2 separate regions of the Homo sapiens genome follow, and region 2 is linked to region 1. The links are contacts of gene promoters, found by promoter capture Hi-C in human tissues and cell types (Jung and others, 2019). All regions are on one chromosome and are shown on one strand. The core of a region is centred on a gene start or on the middle of the fragment in contact, and the rest is flanking DNA. Distances in the headings are between cores, read along the strand shown.

Region 1 (7,174 bases), core at 1-2,500:
ACCACACACCCATAAAGCGACATCAGCGGTCTCCAGGGCGGAAAGGGGTGGAAGCTGACCCTCGCCCTTCCCTCCAGCGCTGGCTTCAGGTGTGCCTTCTGCTACCTCCTGTACTGCGAACAGGGGCCCGCCGAGCTCCGGGAGCCCCTAGAAGAGGAAGACTCCTCTGGCCCCACTAGGTATCATCCGCGCTCTCCCGCTTTCCACCTGCGCCCTCGCTTGGGCCAATCTCTGCCGCACGTGTCCATCCCTGAACTGCACGCTATCCTCCACCCCCGGGGGGTTCCTGCGCACTGAAAGACCGTTCTCCGGCAGGTTTTGGGATCCGGCGACGGCTGACCGCGCGCCGCCCCCACGCCCGGTTCCACGATGCTGCAATACAGAAAGTTTACGTCGGCCCCGACCCGCGCGGGACTGCAGGGTCCGCCGGAGCGCGGCGCAGAGGCTTTTCCTGCGCGTTCGGCCCCGGGAAAGGGGCGGGAGGGCTGGCTCCGGGAGCGCACGGGCGCGGCGGGGAGGGTACTCACTGTGAAGCACGCTGCGCCCATGGATCATGTCTGTGCGTTACACCAGAGGCTCCGGGCTCCACTAATTCCATTTAGAGACGGGAAGACTTCCAGTGGCGGGGGGAGGACAGGGTCGAGAGGTGTTAAAGACGCAAAGCAAGAAGGAAATAAAGGGGGGCCGAGAGGGAGACCGAGAGGAAGGGGGAGCTCCGAGCCCACGCTGCAGCCAGATCCGGATGAGTCCGTCCTCCGCCCCGGGCGGGCTCTCGCTCTCGCTGGCCCTCAGCGCCGCGCAGCCAGCAGCATCCCCACCGTGACGCTCGCATCACACCCGGGCGCCGGCCGCCACCATCCGCGCCGCCGCCGTCAGGACCCTCCTCCCGGGCATCGTCGCCGCCGCGGGGTCGGGAGGACGCGGCGCGCGGGAGGCGGCGGTCGCAGGGCGAGCCCCGGGACGCCCCGAGCCGGGGCCGGGGCCGGGGAGAGGGCGCAGCGAGGTGGGGGCCAGTCCAGACCGACGGCAGCGACGGAGCGGGCGGCGGCGGCGGCGCCGGCGGCGGCGGGGTGGCTCAGTCCCCAGTCTCAGACGCGCCGCGCAGCAGGTCGGAGCAGCCTCCCCGGGAGGATGTCCAGCGGCAGCGCTCCTCGCTCCAGCCCTTGGGGATCTTCCGCTGAGGCATTGAAGGCAGGAAGAAGGGGTCCGTCATCGGCTCGCCGGGCTGCGCGCCACCTCTGCTATCTTGCGGAAAGAGGAGCGGGTGGGTGGGCGTCTGGGAGGCGGGCTGGAGGGCGGTGCAGGGGAGCGGGGCGGCCGGGGGGGGGGCCGGGGGGCGGGGAAGGGAGGGAGGAGAAAGGAGCCGGAAGAGGGCAGAGTTACCAAATGGGCTCCTTAGTCATGGCTTGGGGCTCCACGACCCTCCTGGAAGCCCGGAGCCTGGGTGGGATAGCGAGGCTGCGCGCGGCCGGCGCCCCGGGGCTGGTGCGCGGCAGAATGGGGCCGCGGCGGCGGCAGCAAGGACATCCCAGCCGCGCGGATCTGGGGGAGGGGCGGGGAGGGGGTGAGGACCCGGCTGGGATCCGCGGCTCGGCCCGCCAGGGCGCAGAGAGAGGATGCAGCCGCAAATCCCGAGCCGGATCCTCGTGCCGGACGGAAGGCGTGGAAGCGGGAGGGGCCTTCGTGTGAAAATCCCTTGTGGGGTTTGGTGTTTCACTTTTTAAAGGTTAGACCTTGCGGGCTCTCTGCCTCCCACCCCTTCTTTTCCATCCGCGTAAAGGAACTGGGCGCCCCCTCTCCCTCCCTCCCTGGGGCGCAGGTTTCGCCGCGGACTCCGCGCTCAGCTTGGGAGACACGGCAGGGGCGCGCCCCAGGGAAAGGCGGCCGTAAAAGTTTCGCGGTTGAGCACTGGGCCTGATGTCCAGTCCCCCCACCAAATTACTCCTGCAAAGACGCGGGCTTCTTGCAATTGAGCCCCCCACCTCGAGGTATTTAAAACCACCCCAAGGCACACACGGACCCCCGTTCCCCCGCGCCACTTCCTCCTACAGGCTCGCGCGGCGCGTTAAAGTCTGGGAGACACGAGTTGCGGGGAAACAGCACCGGAAGAGCCCGGGCTTGTAAAATGCGAATCAATGAATACGAAATAAGGGCAACCGCGAGGCAGCGCCGGGAAGGGCTGGAGCGCGCGGGGGTGCAGGGAGTCCCTCCCTGGGCGCCGCAACGGCACCTCCTCCCTTTCCCGGCTCCGTCCCGCCCTCCCTCGGCCTCTGCGGACGCGACCCACGCAGACCACAGCCGAGCCCGCCGGACCCCGGGACTACGGAAGCCATCCCGTCCGGCCACCCACACCCGCGCCGCGGCTGGGGCTTGGGTTGGGGACTGTGGCGGCGAAGAAGCCGGGGTAGGAAGAGCTAATGGCAATGGCGGGGTCGCCGGGGGGCGGGGGGTCAGCAGCAGACGCTGAGCTGTGAAGACTAGGGTGGCCCCGAAAGGCCGAGGAAAGGAGAAAGGGCCATGAGAAGAGTCTGGCGAGCGCTCGAGGCCGGGGGGCTGCCTCCCGGCTCTGGCCCGGCCTCCGCTTCCCGGCACCTGCTGCTGGGGCGCCCACGTGCGCGCGGGGCTGCGCGGGGCGTTGGGTGCTCGTCGCAGTCCTGCCCACGCCTAGCGCAGCGGCTGTGAGTGGGTGGAGGTCTCCTGCCAGTAAGTTGGGATGAGGGACGATGAGGTGACCCCCAAGTCTGGAAGGGATTCAGAGTCTCACACGCGCCCCCAAGCCTCCTACCACCACACCAAAGTGCTGGTTCCTCGATTTCCAGGGTGGGGTAAAGTGACCGAGCAAAGGGGATGGTGTGTTTGTGTGTGCGCGCGCATATACGCGCGCGCGTGTTGTGCATCCGTGTAATGAAAGTTGGGTCATGGGTCAACCCGGGAGTAGAGCGAGATGGAGACCTAAAGAGAGAAAGCTGAGAGAAGGGGGAAGACATGGACAGGGTAAGAGAGAGAGAAAGGAGAGAGAGAAGAAAGGGAAAAGAGGAGCGGGGAGAGAAAAGAGAGGCAGGAGAGAGAATGAGGGGACAGAAGAGAGTAGGGAGACGAGAAGGCGGAGGACAGAAGAAATGGGGGAGAGGGAAGAGGACAGAGAGGCTGCGCGCCTCTGAATACGCCAAGTCCAGCAGAGCTGGAGGCCTGTGAGAGGAGCTGCAAGCTTGAGCAAAGGGAGAGAGGTGAGCGGATGAAGGGAGATTGGTGAGTATCCGCCCACGCACCTACTTGTAAAAAGATCAAGGGGAAACACGCAGAAGGTCCCGCGGGAGTCCTGTGACCCACGTGAGGTGCTCGTGCCAGCGCGGGGTGGGAGGTGGTGGGCAATGTTCGTCGTGGAGTTGAGGAAGAAATTCTCCAGCCTTAAGGAAGCAAAAGAGTTCAAAGATCAGTGAGGCTGCTCAACAGAGGGATATGCAGATGACAGAATGCTTGGAAAACGCTTTTGGGGATCCGGGTCATCTATAGAGGAGAGGGTGGAGGTCTTGCAAAAGGACCAGTCGCAAGAGTTGACAGTTGAATGTTGGAATCTTTCTTATGGTTGGATGGCACTTTCTTTACATCCAAAATATGCGTTATTCGTGAAGATGACACAGTTCTACAAAGAAAGTGGCAACATTTAAAATTATTTGTAGAAAGTTACTGCATTTCTCAATCACAGTTTGAAGGCAGAGAAAACTTGGTTTTACCATAAATGCTCTCATTCACCTGCCCTCTTCTGTCCTCTTTGCCCAGAACAGTTTCCCAGGACACTGGGATTTTGTAACCTGCCAAGGAAGGGGCTACGTTGCTAAACAAGTAGTCCTTTTATGGGACACAGGAAATTAGGAAGGAACTCATAAGGAAGGTGAAAGGGTCCTAACCTTTTGTCCACGCCTGTATTTGAAATCAAATATCTTGCATAAACAGTGGTCTCCATTTTTTTTCTTTTTTTAATGAATTAAAGGCTGGAGCGCAGTGACTGGATCACAGCTTGCTGCAGCCCCAACTTCCTGGGCTCAACTGAGCTTCCCACCTCAGCCTCTGGAGTAACTGGGACTACAGGCACAGGCCATCATGCCTGGCTAATTCTTTTATTTTTTATATTTTTTAGAGAGGGGGTCTAGCCATGTTACCCATGCTGTTCTCAGACTCCTGGCCAAAAGTGATCCTGTGGCCTCCCGCTGATCTTTAATGCCCAGTGCTTTCTCGGGCAATGCGTGGGGCTGAGGCATTAAATTTTGCTGAAACCTCAGTGCTGAGGGAGTGAGTGTGCACGTTCTGGACCTAGGACAGGACAGAGGCCTGGCTAGCTCAGGTGCTCTGATAATCAACCAAGAGACTGGGCCAACACAGATGCTGAGGCCCGCGCTGCACTCTCCTACTCTTTCCAGGCTGCAAGTGTAGCATTGTTATTGACAATTCCATTCATTTTTCTTCATACACACCCATACACGCTTTTCACCATCCACTACATCCTGTTTACTTGGCAAGCTGCCTTCTCATTTTTGAGTTCCAGAATCCACACTTGCTGAGTAATGCTACCTCCCTAATAGGGACCCATAAGATTTTTCTTTCTGAGAAAAAACAACATATGGGAAAAGTTCAGTTTCTCCCAGAAAAGGTTGCGCAAACATATGGTCAAATTACAAGATGATGTCGTTATTTTGAAAGGAAGAGCATATAAACTGATAGCTTTTGTGAGTTGAGTGTGCCATCCTGGAAGATGGTGCTTTGTCGCAGTTCCCCAAGGTTAGCATTGAAATAGTGACTACTATAGAAGATGGTGCAGAATTAAAGCCACTTGAACCCAATGAAGGTGTCATTAGTAAGTTGGTTTTATTTCTCAGCTTGCAGCTTCCTAACAATGAAAGATCATATGGACTTCCAAAATCCTAAAAAGAATTGGCGTAGGGTACAAGCCCTTCTAATTCAAATGCACATAGTATTTGTCTACATACATGTACTTCTCTATAGGAAAAAATAAAGCTACAGTTCTACCAGGGCTCCTTTGTTAATTAATCTCCAGTACTGGCATCATCTTAAAAGTTGTCTATCAGTAAAAGAGGTGATGCTACAAAAAATAACTCAAATGTAATAGTGCTAATGACACATCCATATTACAATAATATTTTCTGATTTTTACATAATTTATTTACATGGTTGTGAAGTGTAAAGGTTTTTGCATTTAACAATATATGTCATAATACTAGTTTCTCAAAAACAAGTAATTTGCTGGTAAATATAGGAATGTTTTTTGAAAATTCTCTGAAATAGTCTAACATGAAGCTGGTTTTAAGCAATATTGAAGAAGCTCTCTTCAAAAAATCTATAGGAGTATCCTAACGCAGTAGAAAGTCTCCACGAAATAGAAGACCTGTCAAAATCTCTGAAATCTTACATTTAAACCAAACAGGATATTTTATGATCACCACTAGGGAAAAATAAAATATAGTTTTGTTAGAAGTACAAATATATTGTATTCTTAGGCAGCACAAGAATGTTTGCCTCTTGTGGGAAAGAACTTTCATAGCACTTCCTTTGCCAGTTAGCACTTTCAGATACATGATCCTTCAATCCATATCAAAACTTCAGAAAAAAAATTTTCATTTTGATTGATATTTACTTCGCAGTGGCTTATAAAAATAATACCAATTATTTTTATGATCACTCGACTAATTATAAGCTCATCCTCTATAAATCAACATAAACTTCAGGAACATTTACGAAGATACACCCCAAGATTAAAAGTGTAAAGGCTCTGTACAGAAGCCACCTTTATAGTATAAGTATTGTACCACAAAGTCCACGCACTGCTATTTCAGGGAAAAAACAAGTTTCCACTCCTAGAAGACGGCATATTTGGAAAATATAAGCTAAACTAAAGGGTAAATCTACATATTCCATGTCAAAATAACCATTAATAAATACAAACAAAATGTTACTTCAGTGTGCTAAATCAGACATGTGAAAGTTTCTCATGGGTTAGACATACTTTGTGTGTGCGTGTGTGTGTGTGCGTGTGTGTGTGTGTTGAAGTCTCGCCCTGTTGCTCAGGCTGGAATGAGGTGGCACGATCTCGGCTCACTACAACCTCTGCTCCCTGGGTTCAAGCCTGCCACAACCTCCAGAGTAGCTGGGATTACAGGTGTGCGCCACCACGCCCGCACAATTTTTTTTTATATTTTTAGTAGAAACAGGGTTTTGCCATGTTGGCCATGCTGGTCTCAAACTCCTACCATCAGGTGATCAGCCCGCCTCAGCCTCCCAAAGTGCTGGGATTACAGGTGTGAGCCACAGCGCCCAGCCTTTTTTCATAATTATATAAGTTAATAGCATCACATAAACTTAATAACTTTGGCTATTTAGCACATACTTTAATCTTATTATGATATATTATTATGTGGATTTGGAAACTAACAAAAGCCATGATTTGCTTGGTGAAAGTAACCCTGGATGTTAAGGTAGGACTTAACATCCAGGACTTACCTGACTTAAATACATTTTGAGGAGAGTACCAAGCTTTTGTGCATGAAGGGAAATGTTAAATGAAAATCTTCCTTTTTTAAACACTAATTACCTGATTTACCTATTCTTTCTTTGAGTGTCCATTCTCTGTTATAATTAATATGTGTAAGGAAATGTCCTACCATGTTTCCATTTACATTTGCAAGACAAGATATGAAACATAAACTAACTTTGTTTTCAGTTTTAGGTTAGATAAATTTACAAATAATATATTTTCAGAAAGTAGCAATGTATATAGCAGCAGAATTTTTGCCAAATAGTTATAGTTACAATAATTTTCAAAAATTAAGGCAAAATATATTTTACTTTTTAGTAAATTATTATTTAAATATTCTCTATTATAGTTTTATAATTGATAGATGCAGTTAATTTTTGGTATATATATTTTTTCTTTTCTTTTCTTTTCTTTTTTTTTTTTTTTTTGAGACTGAGTCTTGCTCTGTCACCCAGACTGGAGTGCAGTGGCGCGATCTTGGCTCACTGCAACCTCCACCTCCCGGGTTCCAGTGATTCTCCTGCCTCAGCCTCCCAAGTAGCTGGCACGTACCACAATACCTGGCCACTTTTTGTATTTTTATTAGAGACGGGGTTTCACCATATTGGCCAGGCTGGTCTTGAACTC
Region 2 (7,174 bases), core at 2,186-4,685, 1.1 Mb after region 1:
GATCTCTCACTTCGAATGAACAATCACATTTACAAACCTGCACCATCTGGCCTCAGTCCATCCTCCCACCTCCTTCCCCACGGCTCCACCCACACCACAAAGTCCCTCCACTAAGCCCTCTCCACAGCCAAGGCCCCCTCCCCACCGTTGTCATGCTGTTCCTTCTTCCTTTAATGTTCTTCTCTACTTATTTGCCTGTCAAATTCATTTTTATCATTCCAGATCCAGATGTTAACTCCTCCATGAGGATTTCTTCTCCTACACTCTTTCAAAGATACTCATTTACTAACCCCGTCTGCTAGATGGCCATAATAATTTGTTAAAACTTATATTATATTATACTTTCAACCTCTAGAGTCTGGATACATGTATAGATAGGTAGAGAGAGACAGGGATTTACATATATACATATTGATTAGCATATGTATATTGATAAATATATAGAGAGAGATTTTATATATATATATATATATATATATATATATATATATATTTCTACCTCTAGACAAGAATGAAGTATGCTTAACTCTGTATCCTCAGTGCTAACTGCGACACCCAGTATGTGCTAAGTATTTGGAAATGCTTTGTGAAAGAACGAATTGATATATGGAAGGATGCCATTCAGGTTTATGAACACAACTAAACACAGTTACCCTCCTGTGAAAAGAAGGCATACAAATCAAGGAAGAAAGTCTGGGAGAAGCTTTCTTGTCTTGAAGGACAGTTTAGCACCATGACTAAGAATACAGGTTATGAAGATTGAATGACTGGGTTTAAATCCTTCTTTCACATTGACTAGCTATTTCCTCCACACCTCACTGTCCTCATCTGAACCATGTGGGTGACTGATAATAGCACCTGCCTCCTAGGGTTACTGGGAGGATTAAATGAGCTGATGCCCGTGGGGAACTTAGGCCCCCACACCTAGGCCCTCAAATCTAGAGCAGTGTGTACTCCATGCATGCCCCTGTTATTATTACCTTACTGCCTCTCCCCTGCCTTGATGTTCCAGGAATTCTCCTCTCCCCAAGGTTCATAATAATTCACAGTGGGAGCTTGTGGACATCAAGGTGACTCAAATCTTCAAAAGGAAACAAGATGAATGCCAGAGTTTATTTAAATGAGTATAGGTCCTGGATTTATTTTTCTTCCTGAGTCATTGCCCTGAGAGGATGACAAATAGGAAGCAAAGCCATTTTAAGACATGGCACTGCAGAGTTTGGGACAGCTCAGACCCATTTGGCCTCAGTAACTGGAGTTTTCCCATGAAAGTAGTCAATCTGAGAACAAGAATGTTCACTCGTTCCAGAAAATGGATTGAGTACATACTCCAGACCATGCCATGGTTTTATACACTACTCCCTGCTCCACACCACCAGGCCATGAGTGTACAGTCTTGGCCATGCTTCACATCAGGCCATGAGTGCATAGTGTACACCGTGCTTCAAATCAGATGATGAGCACATAGTCTACACCATGCTCCATGCCAGGCCATAAGCACATAGCCTAGGCCATGCTCCATACCAGGCCATGAGTGCACAGCCTACACCATGCTTCATATCAAGTGATGAGCACAGAGTATACAGCCTACCCCATACCAGGTCATGAGTGCACAGCCTACGCCATGCTTCAAACTAGATGATAAGCACATAGTCTACACAATGCTCCATACCAGGCCATGAGTACATAATCTAGGCCATGCTTCACACCAGGCCATAAGCACATAGTCTACACCATGCTTCAAATCAGATGATGAGTGCATAGTCCAACACCATGCTCCATACCAGACCATAAGCACATAGTCTAGGCCATGCTCCATACCAGGCCATGAGTGCACAGCCTACACCACGCTTCAAACTAGATGATAATCACATAGTCTACACCATGCTCCATACCAAGCCATGAGTACATAATCAGGGCGATACTCCACACCAGGCCATGAGCCCATAGTCTACACCATGCTTCATATCATATGATGAACACATAATCTACACCATGCTGCATACCCAACAATGTGCTACATTTTGAGATGCACAGGTGAACAAAATGGCACCCCTGACCTTGTAGAGCTTAGTCTAGCAAAGGAGAAGAATATTCATGTTTGTATTAAATACCATAAGGAAAGTACTCCATGCACAATGAGGATCTAGAGCAGAGTGACCTTCCCTAGGATTAAGAGTTAGAGAAGCTTTTCTGCAGGTGACACGTGAGCAGAAACCTGACAGCTGGGAAGGAGTTAACTAGGATAAGAAGGGAAGGTGCACTCTCCAGGGGAGTCAGAATTAGCACAGGTGCTAGAAGCCAGGGAGCTTGCACAGACGCTTCCGGGACATTTGTTTACAATGGAGGAAGAAGGCCAAGGGAATGCAGGCCATGTAGAAGATTTTTTTCCTTCTCCTAAGAATAATGGGAAATGACTGAAAGTTTTAAGCAAAGTTGTGACTGCTTTCCTTCACAGAATGGAAGAAATGGTGGAGAAAATCACCTTTGTGGCCCCATAGGAAAATCAAGACTACATTGGAGGTACTGGATAAGTGATGTTACGCAAAAACAAAGAATTCTGGATGGAGCTTACATTGAGTGTAAAACAACCTAATGAAAGAGAAAACTCTGACAGAGCTGCCTGTCACATTCATCACCCTCTTTGGTACTTTGAGCTTGGATTCCATGTACTCTCTGAAGGTCAATGTGACCTCCAGCCTACGAGGTACTGGAGGCCCCTCGTCACCTGTGATGAGCTGCACTGCTGTCCAATTTAGTTTAACTGCTGGTAGGGGATCATTTTTCTTTTGGAAGCTTCTTGTTTTAGTTATTCCAATCAAATATATCATCTCTTGCTTACTTTGGAGGTTATCTCTGTCTACTAGAATGTCATTCATTACTGCTCACAGAATTTTTATTAATAAATGCTCACTACAGTTCATATTTCTTACTCAAACACATTTAATTTGTGTTCACAGGAAGCTTGCTCTGCTTGCTGTCACTGTTGTTTGCTCTACTGAGGATTAAAGCCACCTATTTATTTATTTCCTCCATTAGCCACCTGAGAGCAGGCTAAAGAGTAGGCAACTAGAAGAAAAAAATGCCTTCTACACCATTATATTTTCCATTTTTCTGCCATTTTCTTATTCCCCCTTCATTCATCACTTATTCTGCCTTTCAAAATACCCATGTTCACTGACCCCAACAGCTAAATAACTTCATAAACTTTCATCTATTTTCTGAAGCTTCCTCCCACATGCCTACCGTGAAATCATTCGCCACCAAGCCACCTCCTCCACAGACATTTTCAGAACAAATGAATACACACAGCCTTTTTTTTTGTTGTTTGCTTTTTTGGCCTAGACAGACCACAGATCCCTAAATAGAAGTAAGAAAATATATTCACTAAAGAACATCAAAACCAAGATACATCACGTACCATGTAAAGCTGGCCACTAAATTGAGCAGTAATTTTACCACAAACAGAAATGATGAATATGTTTTTCAAATGAAAAACTCCTGACAGAGAGGCTATAAAAATCACATTACTATTGTTACATATTCATGTGACTAGAAATGCATCAATAAAGAGACATTCAAGAGGCCATATATTCTATACATATGGAGACCATATGTCTCAAGTTTTCTGGGAAAGAAATATTATGTCCTGTGTACCCATATGCACAGTCATCCTTGCTGGGCCATGTGTCCCAAATTTTGTCTGAGAAAATATGGCCACTATAGCTAACATAAACAGTTACTGCAAAACCCAAGGGATGTAGCTGGTGACGCGTGTAACTACAGTCGCTGCAGCAGGGGTTTTTGAGAGAGAAGGCACAGGAAGCAGCTCCAGGATGCAAGGATAGAGTCTCTTATAATTATCACAGGATATGGAAGAGCAAACAGTACCTTTTTTAAACTTTTCAAAGGTAGTGGTGCAGAAAAGAAACAATTTGAAGCAATCAGAGGCATGTTGCAGCAAAAATGTTTTGCAGCCAGCATTTTCAAAAACATTTGCATTGGAGGAAAGCTCACCCTGGCATTGTGGAATTAGCAATTAAAGAACAGAAATAGCTAGACCATTGTAAATGAAGTTAATGAAGACTTTAAAGGCTGAACACTGACAGTGGCAGACGACAGGCAGCGTGGAGTGACTTGGGGGGGTGCAGCACTCAGACTGGCAATTCTGATGATCTATTCACATGGTCGGGAGTGACCTGGGACAAATGGACAAGAATGGGCTTTTTCCTAGCTACACTGGAGATGACAGGACTGCCTGTTAATATCAGGATTCTGCTGTGAGTTTACCTGACTATAATTTCTTTGCTAGCATGTGTATTTATGTCTAAATTAACCATTGGGTCAAGTACCAATAATTCTTTTTAATACTGTTAGAGCAGGAAAGGGAGAAGGAACGAACAGAGGCAGCTCTAGGGCAACAAAGGTTTATTGAACAAAGATTTGCGGAGGGGGACATCAGCTAGCACCAGAGCCCACACCCCCTTACAGGCTGGGGTAATTATAGTTCCAGGAGGGAGAGGTCTGGGCTTGTTGGGAAATGGGGTGGGCAGTGTGGTTAGCTGATGATAAGGGAGGAATTTCCTGGGGTCAGGCAGTTAGGCCTGGGACTTGTCTGGAAAGTCCCAGGATGTTTCTTATGTGGCCTGAGCCCTAGTGGAATTTTCCATTCTGACCAGGGTTTGCAAAATGGCAGGGGTTTACAAAATGGTGCAGCTTGGACTGTCAAATACCTTCATAAGAAATTAAAGTTAAAAGTTTAGCTTCCGGAATCGTCTGCCCTGCTTCAAGACCCAGCTTCACCAACTACAAAGTGTTACTTAGACTCATTAAGCTTCAGTTTCCTCATCTATGAGATGGAAAAGAATTCTAGTAGCTATCTATGAAATAAAGAATTCAACATGGCCCAAAGAGAAATCTGGTCTTTTCTTTTGGTTCATGGGAGGTGCTCTCTAAGCATTTGGAAAGCCTTAGCATCTTAGTGTCCTGATAAACGTGTCTTAGTTTACCTGGGTGTGTTGGGCCACCCCAGTCTAACAATATGATTTAGGAAGAGGGTTTCTGGTCACATGTATCATCAGTTCAACTTCGAAGGATCTAGAAGCTGAGGTCAGGCATGTCTACATGACCAATCCCCAACAAAAACGCTGGACACCAAGGGTTGCGTAGCTTCCCTGGCTGGCAACATTCTGTGTGGTTTGTCACACATCACTGATGGGAGAAGTTAGTACTGTGACTCTACTGGGAGGAGCAACTGGAAGTTCCATGTTTTGAACCTTCCTAGATCTGCCCTGTGTGCGTCTTCTCCTGGCTGATTTTAATCCTTTTGTTGTAATAAACTGTAACCATGAGTATAATAACTTTCAGTGAGTTTGTGAGCCCTTCTAGCAAAATATCAAAACTGAGGATTGTCTCGAGGACCCCCAAATCTGCAATTGGTGTCAGAAGTGAGAGTGGTCTTAGGGACTGTTCCCTGACTTGACACTACCTCATTCATTTGTTGTGAGGCTTAAGAGACAACCCATGTAAAGTGCCAAATGCACTGCCTGCCACCTGTTGAGTGTGCATAATAAACGTTGCAGCTGCTGCTGTTGTTACTAAAATCCTGAATTGGGAAATCTATAAGTGTTGTTAAGGAAAGTTGTCTTAAAGGGGTTGGACCCAAACAGTGTGTCAGATCACCATTCTCCTCCAGCAGATAGACACATAGCCCCTCAGGGACACTATAAAAAAGAAGAGGGCTAAATGTATTCCCACCTACTTTCAACCGTGACCCACTCTGATTTTTAATATTGGCATTCTTCATAAGATTTCCCTGGAAGAAAGCATTTCATACACAAAAATTACTATAAAAACCACTCTCCTAAGCTAAGTCCACAGAATCCTGCCTGGATGAAACCTTCTTGGTTCTGCACAGCCACATTTTTTTATCTAGTTTTGATGTATACAAACAACAAAACCTTATAAGTAAAGATACATTCAATAAACTACAAGTTATGGTTTTGTTTTGCACAAGCTTCAACTTCTTTGAACAGAAAAAAATCATTTCCACTTGGTGAATCTGGCACCCCAATACAGAACACTGCTGTAGTTTGAATGATGACCCAAAGATAGGGCAGTCGTGTGAACTGACCTGGTGGTTTGGGGAGCCCCTCTCTCCTACCAATTCCCTATAGAGAGTGCAAAGGCATTTTAATGTGCAAGTGAGTGAAGTAAAATGTAATTATTAAATCTGCTGAATCAACAAAACTAGGACATTACAGGACAAATGAAAAATACCCTTTTTCATTATTTTGCACTTCCACTGATTCCCTCTGAAATCATGGATGGTAAAGGATCACACGCACAGTCACACACACAATCACACCATAAGACACAAGTGCTCTAGGATCTTTGCCTTGATGGTGGATGTCAGAAAACATGAGGTTGTGAGACATCCATGAATCATGCTGGGCTGAGAGTTCCTCACTGCTAAATTCAGGATGTTCTACAAAAATCCCTCTGACCTGAGTTGACCCAGATAACCTTTAGACAAAACTCACAGGCAGCTGAAAAAATAGAGCATTTTGCAGGTGACATTGGAAAAACCCATGCATACTGAAGGAAAGGCACAGTTATCCAAATTTTCACCTACATCAAAAGAAACGCTACTAATGAAATATGTGTACTTAGGGGGAAAGCTTTTCCATCGTTTAAACACTGAACTTTGAACAGTTTCAGATAGAAAGACTAGTACTTCTGTAATTAGAATACCAGTCACAAGAAACATGCAATCACAAACTCCATAGTCAAATATGTTTGAGAAATGACCTACTGTATACATTATTTTCTTGGAAGGCCATCATGCATGAGGAGATCAGCTCCTGTCCAAATTCCTGTGTGTGATTTTTTCAGGCATAACTGTAGACAATTACAAAGATGTACCTGGAAGACCCCATGAGGGAAGCCACCCTCCCAACAGGGACCTGGTGCACGCGGCGTCTTACCTTCTCTTGGGGGAGCTGCAGGCCACGCCAGTCATGTGCTTACACATATCTGTACCTAGCCCTGACACCTGCATTCCAAGCCCTCTTTGCCGGGGTCCTACCCAGAGGCTTCCTCAGGCCCCTCTAGGTGACCTCCCTGTGGAGAGAGAGGAGCGGGAATCTTGAAACTATTTCTCCACATTGACTCA

Evidence for each region. The method cuts DNA at HindIII sites, captures the fragments that hold promoters and counts their contacts. A contact is called where the count stands out against the background at its distance.
Region 2: a fragment that was not itself captured here is called in contact with the fragment with the promoter of NETO1 in region 1 in 1 of the 25 tissues and cell types used here (dorsolateral prefrontal cortex).

What each region holds. Positions count from the first base shown.
Region 1 is chr18:72,866,737-72,873,910 of GRCh38, forward strand. NETO1 (neuropilin and tolloid like 1) reads right to left here and starts at 1,251. Exons shown (of 11, transcript NM_138966.5): 1 at 528-1,251. The coding sequence starts at 555. NETO1-DT (NETO1 divergent transcript) reads left to right here and starts at 1,652. Exons shown (of 2, transcript NR_134648.1): 1 at 1,652-1,726. The HindIII fragment of the contact is 16,969 bases long and covers 1-4,877 here.
Region 2 is chr18:73,944,072-73,951,245 of GRCh38, forward strand. LOC124904358 (a long non-coding RNA gene) reads left to right here and starts at 3,809. Exons shown (of 2, transcript XR_007066470.1): 1 at 3,809-4,280. The HindIII fragment of the contact is 3,980 bases long and covers 1,446-5,425 here.